Linked DNA regions of Homo sapiens: region 1 is linked to region 2. The links are contacts of gene promoters, found by promoter capture Hi-C in human tissues and cell types (Jung and others, 2019). All regions are on one chromosome and are shown on one strand. The core of a region is centred on a gene start or on the middle of the fragment in contact, and the rest is flanking DNA. Distances in the headings are between cores, read along the strand shown.

The links. The method cuts DNA at HindIII sites, captures the fragments that hold promoters and counts their contacts. A contact is called where the count stands out against the background at its distance.
Region 1: a contact is called between a fragment that was not itself captured here and the fragment with the promoter of LRRC9 in region 2, in 1 of the 25 tissues and cell types used here (dorsolateral prefrontal cortex).

The regions. Positions count from the first base shown.
Region 1 is chr14:59,720,333-59,723,845 of GRCh38, reverse strand. The region is part of intron 3 of RTN1 (reticulon 1); the gene reads left to right. Among named protein-coding and RNA genes, the nearest start is that of MIR5586, 75 kb to the right of the region's middle. The HindIII fragment of the contact is 4,104 bases long and covers 1-3,513 here.
Region 2 is chr14:59,918,474-59,921,768 of GRCh38, reverse strand. LRRC9 (leucine rich repeat containing 9) reads right to left here and starts at 1,625. Exons shown (of 33, transcript NM_001395648.1): 1 at 1,496-1,625. RefSeq lists an enhancer at 1,266-2,465. The HindIII fragment of the contact is 18,773 bases long and covers 1-3,295 here.

The DNA of each region.
Region 1 (3,513 bases), core at 581-3,080, 200 kb after region 2:
TGTTTCCTGCATTCTGATTACTTATCATGCAACTCAAAAGTGTGTGGCTTGGACCAGCCATGTTGATATTATGTGGGAGGTTGTTAGAAATGGGGAATCTCAGGCTGCTTCCAAGACGTACTGAATCAAGATCCCCTGTGCATAAGTGCATATGTGATTCTTATACACTTTAAAGCTTGGGAAGCAGAGTTTTATTTTTTTTAATTTATTTTTATTTATTTATTTATTTTGAGACGGAGTCTCGCTCTGTTGCCCAGGCTGGAGTGCAGTGGAGCATCTCTGCTCACTGCAAGCTCCGCCTCCCAGGTTCACGCCATTCTACTGTCTCAGCCTCCCGAGTAGCTGGGACTACAGGCGCCCACCACCACCACGCCCGGCTAATTTTTTGTATTTTTTTTTTTTTAGTGGAGATGGGGTTTCACCATGTTAGCCAGGATGGTCTTGATCTCCTGACCTTGTGATCCACCCACCTTGGCCTCCCAAAGTGCTGGGATTACAGGCGTGAGCCACCGCACTCGGCCAGGGTAGCAGGGTTTTAGACGATGGCAGTATGCTTTCATATTCCTACTTGAAACTGACTGTCTTCTTGCCAAACAAATGGCCTCTTTTCAATCTCATCTTTCTTGTCCTCTCTGGTAATCTAATATCATACTGCTGATCAGTCCTTAAAACGTTAATAATAAAGTAATGTATATTTGTTGTAATAAATTCAAACTGTACAAAATGGCACAGAATTCAAAGTTAAAGAGTCTGGGCATGGTGGCCCACACCTGTAGCCCCAGCACTTTGGGAGGCCAAGGCTGGTGAATCACTTGAGCCCAGGAGTTCAAGACCAGACTACGCAACATGATGAAACTCCATCTCTACAAAAAATACAAAAATTAGTTGGGTGTGGTGGTGCATGCCTGTAGTCCCAGCTACTCAGGTGGCTGATGTGGGAGGATCACTTGAGCCCAGGAGGTCGGGCCTGCAGTGAGCTTTGATCACACCACTGCACTCCAGCCTGTGCAACAAAGAAAGACACCTTGTCTCAAAAAAAAAAAAAAAAAGTTAAAAGTTCCCTACTCAACCCTCCCATCCCTAATTCTCACACGTCACTACAGGCCTTTGTATTGTTTTTTTTTTATTGTTGTTCTTGTTCTTCAAGAATTTCTTTAAGTATTCAGGAATATATAGTTTTTCACTGAAAAAGTAACATTATATTGAACATACTGTTTTGTAACTTATGTCATTTAACAATAAAATTAGGGACAATATCAGCTCTCATGGAAATCGTTCACTCCTTCTCAGAACTTTTTCCTCCCTTATCGTACTGATGTTTCTCTTTCTTGGTTCTCCTCTTACTCTCTGACCTCTTTTCCAGTCTCTTTTGCTACCACCCTTCCAGTTCCTCTGTGTTGTCCCTGAGTTCTATCCTTGTCTTTCTTCCTCCTGCCTATCCTTGCTGTCAAAGCTGCTGTCACCCATGCAGGTTTTCAGGCACTGCTTTATGTGTGACACTTCTCAAATCTCTTGCTTTGAAGAAATCCTCTTTTCTAAACTCCAAGCCGATTTCCCTCACTGTGTATTGGACATCCCATAGACCTCCCAAATTCCGTATGTCCATGTTAATTTATCAAAATTTGCTCTTTTCCTTCCTCTGTTCCCTTCCTGAGCAAATGAAGTGATGTCATTGAGTGTGAACACTCAACCTCCAGGACTCTAACCCTCTTACAGTTCTAAGTTCTCATACTTTTTGAATACTGTTAGGAATTTATCCCATAGAAATGCTATAGCAGGTGGGCAAAAATATATAAATTATACACATGTGTAAATAGAGTTAGAAAGATACATATGAATATCTTTCTTATCTCGTTTTTCATAGTAATGAAAAAGTTGGAAAAAACACCAACAGGGAGTTGAGTAAAATGAATTTTCATCCATCCATCCATTGGAGAGCAACAAAATCATTTAGAAGAACTAAGTCTGGATCCAAGTAAAGACTCATTAGCCTGAGACAAAGTTAAAGGTACTCGGTGCCGACCTGACTGTAAATACTTCAGTAGAAGTCTTGCAGTAGTGTTTGGTTATAAAATTATCACCCAGGTGATCCAGAGTGTTCTTACTATTTGAAAAATTAATATCAAAATAAAAATACAAAAATGAAATTCTCTTTTTGGAACCCTAAAGTACACAACCAGTGACCCAGATTGAGAAATATTTCTTTAAGCTAGCAAGGACTTAAGTGTTGCTTGGGGACCAGGTACCTCAGCACCTTTTGGAGTGCTTGTTCAGAATTCAGATTCTCAATCTACCCCCACCTCGAAACTACAGAATGAGAACTGGCTGGGGCATACATCTGCACTTTTAATAATCACACTGAAGCTTGAGAATTTCTATTGTAAACAGATGAGCTAAGCAGCCCAGACCTTCTAAGAAAACTTGTTGGTGAGCATGACTTAGACATATCATGCTTTTAAATTAAAGATGCTGAGGGGGACTCAGCTGTTTCTATCTCTTTCTGTTAGAGAGGTACCTGTCTGTGCCCTGGGAGGCAGGCCTCTGCAGCCTGCTCACCCATGGCCTCCTCTGTGTATAGCAGCTACAGCAGCTTGAGGCTGGAGGGCTCAGCCCCTTGTGGCAGGGGAAAACCTGTCTTTTCCTTGGAGGGGTGATTTGTGGGATGGCTACCAGGTGGAGGTCTTCTCAAATAGAATAGATTTTCATCTGTCTAGCATTTATGATGTTTGTTATCACTTTTCATTATTATACTAGATATTACTTCTGTCCTAAAATATTTGGGAGGGAACCAAAATAAGTATGACCCATTTACTTTCTTCTCATAATTCTAAAAAAAAAAAGTCATTATACCCTAGTCCTGTATGTGTTCACTTTCATGAGACTGTATTAATATACCGGGCTATAAAGATTCTTGGAAAGTCTCTTTCTTTCACAATACAGGTGTTAGATTCCACTTGAGCTCTATGCCCCTCCACTGAAGCTGCTGTTCTTTGTCAGCTTTCAACAAGATGGACCAGTAACTGCTGGATAAAGTGTGACTCCTGTGTTGGTATGTGCTATGCCATGGAAATACTTAGATGGAGACATCGATTTTCCACCTTAGAGTATTTTTTTTTTTTTTTTTGAGATAGGGTCTTACTCTGTCACTCAGGCTGGAGTGCAGTGGCGCGATCTCAGCTCACCGAAACCTCCACTCCCAGGTTCAAGCAATTCTCCTGCTTCAGCCTACTGAGTAGTTGGGACTACAGGCATGCACCACCATGCCTGGCTAATTTTTGTATTTTTTGGTAGAGACAGGGTTTTGCTGTGTTGGCCAGGCTGGTCTTGAACTCCTGGCCTCAAGTGATCTGCCTGCCTTGGCCTCTCAAAATGCTGGAATTACTAGCGTGAGCCACTGCAACCAGCCCACCTTAGACTATTGAAAGCAACTAAGCTACTTTTATGAGACTTTGCCCAGTGATAGAAGGAGCTCTTCTGGTCTAGGCAACCCTGGATGAGGCTGCCAGCAGCCAG
Region 2 (3,295 bases), core at 376-2,875:
GGTGAAAAATCCTTATCTTCTTTTCTGTGCAAAAAAAAAAAAAAAAAAAAATCCAACTGCCCACATGAAAAAGCTCCATCTGAATGTGCCACAGGCATCTCAAATTCAGTGTGTTCAAAATTGAACTCATTATATTTTCCAACCAGCCTCCTTCTCCTAATGTATGCCTTCTCTTGAAAAGTAACACCACCATTCTTCTATTGGTTGAGCTATTATCCTCAACCAATCTTTGACTCTATCCCCCTATTTTCATTCACTCATTAAATCCTTCTGCATATACCTCTTAAAGGTCTTACCACATTTTTTTTCCTCCTCCTCATTCCAATTGCCTCTGCCTTGGTTCAGGCCCTCATCACCTCCCCTTAACTTGATGTCCTCCCTGTAGTCTGTCTTCCCTCAAGTTCATCCTCTACACTACTGTGACAGCCTCCTGAAAGGTAAATCTGCTCATGCTTTACCCCTTTGGAAGGTATTAATGGTTTCCATGCTCTGACTCCTGCCTACCTCACATGCTCATCAGCCACAACCTCCACAGAGGACCCTAGGTTCAGGCCACAACTATAGTTCTCTGGAACTGAATGGATGTTTCTGTACTTTGGCATGGGCTGTTTCCTCTCCCTAAAATGTCCTTTTCCCTTGGCTGTATGGCATACTCCATACTTCCCTAAAGATTTAAATCAAAGATCTTCTCTTTGAAGACTTTCATTCTCTCTGGTAGTATTATAAGCATTCTCTTTCTTGTGATTCTGGTTAGGGCTTGCACATACTCTTTGTATAGCACTTGTCACACTGTAAAACAATGTTTACGGGCCTTTCTTCCCTACTAGGTTACATGTTCATTGAAGGCAGAAACTGTGAACCTATCACAGGTTCACTGTCTGGCACATGCTAGTTGTTAAAAAAATTGTTTAATGGGTTAATTGTCATGCCACAGGCATATGGTATAATTTAAAGACATAATCGTTCTCCATGACCAGAGTATAATGATAGAGTAAAAAGGACCATGGTTTCTGTCTGCCGTGAGAGTTGGTTAGGATGTCATTCTGAGAAAACTTTTTTTTTCTCTGCCCAGTAGAAGTCCTGTATGGGTCAAATTATTTCCTCCTTTGGGTATAAAAGGATCAGAATCCATCAGTTACCACTGATGGTCCAAATAAACCCCCTACACTCTCTAGATGAGCAGTGTCAGGTTTGGTTAGGGAGCACTTGGTTTTTCCAGCCCAGAATCTTAATTGGTGCAGTAAAATCTGCATAGTTGGCTGTAGGCCACCCTCCCTTTCCTTCTCTTGAACTTTGTTCTGGTACCCTGACTGCCTCAGTAAAGCCACCTCACTGTCTTTCATCATTATCATCACCATTGCACCATTACGGAGTTCCCTTGACCTCAACTTTGCTTCACTGGCGTCTTCCCCTTGGTATGGCTTGGAAGGAAAAAGAGGGGATCAAAGACTCCCGGTGATGTACGCCCGAAGGCCACCAGGTGACGGATTCTGACCTTATCACAGAGAGAGGGTGGATTCCGGGGCAATCCGATTCAAGTCCGAGTCCACTCCGATTTCCCAATCCCTGTCTTGCAGCAGAAGGTAGGAAACCCTCTCCCGCCCCAGGCCTGGTGTGTACAGACTGCCTGTGGCGGTTGCCTAGGTAACCTGATCTCCGCCTCCGGCGACCTCCGGGTGGGGAGGAGGAGAAAAGGGGCGGGGAGGGGGATAAAAGGGTGGGGGGGAAGCGGAGGCCGACCCGGGTTTGCATCACGTGGTGGCGACCTCCAACCAATCAGCGGAAGCAGGGGTCCAACCGGAAGACCCCACCTGGGGCTCCTGGGAAACGGCGGGAGCTTCTCGCTGGCAGGTTTTTCTGTACCTGCGCTTATCTTTTCACTTACCTTCGCCAGTTCGCGGAACGTGACTGAAAGCAACGCGTTATGGGCAAGGTGGTGGGGACTTATTCGTTACCTCCTCCAGTCTCGCTCTCTCCCATTCATTATCTTTAGCTCTCGGGTCCTGGAAGCGCGGAGCCTCTCTGGCCTTGAGCCCCGAGGGCATGGCCCTGTGATGTCACAAGGTGGCGTGACAGCCGGGACGAACCCCGACCCCCAGCGCGGCATCCTTCCCGCGGCCAGCGACCACCGCCTCCCGGGAAGGTGGCTGACCACAGCCGCAAGCCGCTGCGCGCCCGGCAAGCCGAATGGAAGGACGGCGCGGGCAAACGAACGCCCAGTGAGGTCCAGAGAAGAGAGGGACCTTCCGAGGGTCTTCTAGTCGATCTCGGACAGGCTTTTGAGTGCCTTTTAAGCATTCCAAAATTTTCAGGAGACAACAGTAATTTACAAAATAGAGTAGAATTAAAAGGGGGGAAAGGGGAGACTTTTCAGAGTGGGCAGAGAGGCTGAGAAATGAACTTAGTAAAAGGCAAACCAAAGCAACCGCAGGTCTCGTGTCGTTCTCTGGATCTGCGCAGTCCAGCAGGGTGAGCCGCTACCCACAGACTCGCAGGGCCCATGATCGCTTGAAATGTGGCTTGTCCAAATTGACATGTGCTGTAAGGTACGCATTGTATTTTGAAGGCTTAGTATGAAAAAAATAAACTCTTTCGTTATTAATCTTCATATTGATTAAATGTTGAAATAATATTTTTGATACATTGGGTTAAATAAAAAATATTGTTAAAATTATTGTTTCTATTTTGAAAATGCGGCTGTTAGATAAATTTTAAATTGCATGTATGACTTGAATTATGTTTCTTTTGGACTGTGCTCTCTTTTATGTGGTTCAGTCGGTTTGTGTAGAATAGTTGTGATGTTAATGCAAAATATTGTCTGTAGTGCTTCTTTCTGTCACCAGATGGCCACCTCATTAAATAGACTATAGTTTTGAACTGCTTTCCCAAGAAAAAGTTCAGATTTTAGGAATATTCTCATTTAACAATTGTCAACAATTTCAGCATATTTGCCTTTATTCAATTAACTTTATCTGTAATATAGACCGTTTGTAAAGATACATAAACAAAAATTAACTGGTTTTCCCTCTACATTCTTATTTCACAGAAAATTGTTTCTATCTGTCATTAATAGATAATTCGAAATAAGCTAATTAAAGTTATTTGTGGCTTAGGGGTTTCAAACTAATGCCAGAAAAGTCAGATTCATAGTTTTTACTTTTACTATTATCTTCTCTGAAATGTAGTTGAACAAGGTGACCTGTCTTTGGGGAAGTTTTCTTCATAGAGTATAAAGATGAATTAGAACATAATAGTTGAGATTTCTACACTTCTAGACATAGAAATTTGAACAGAA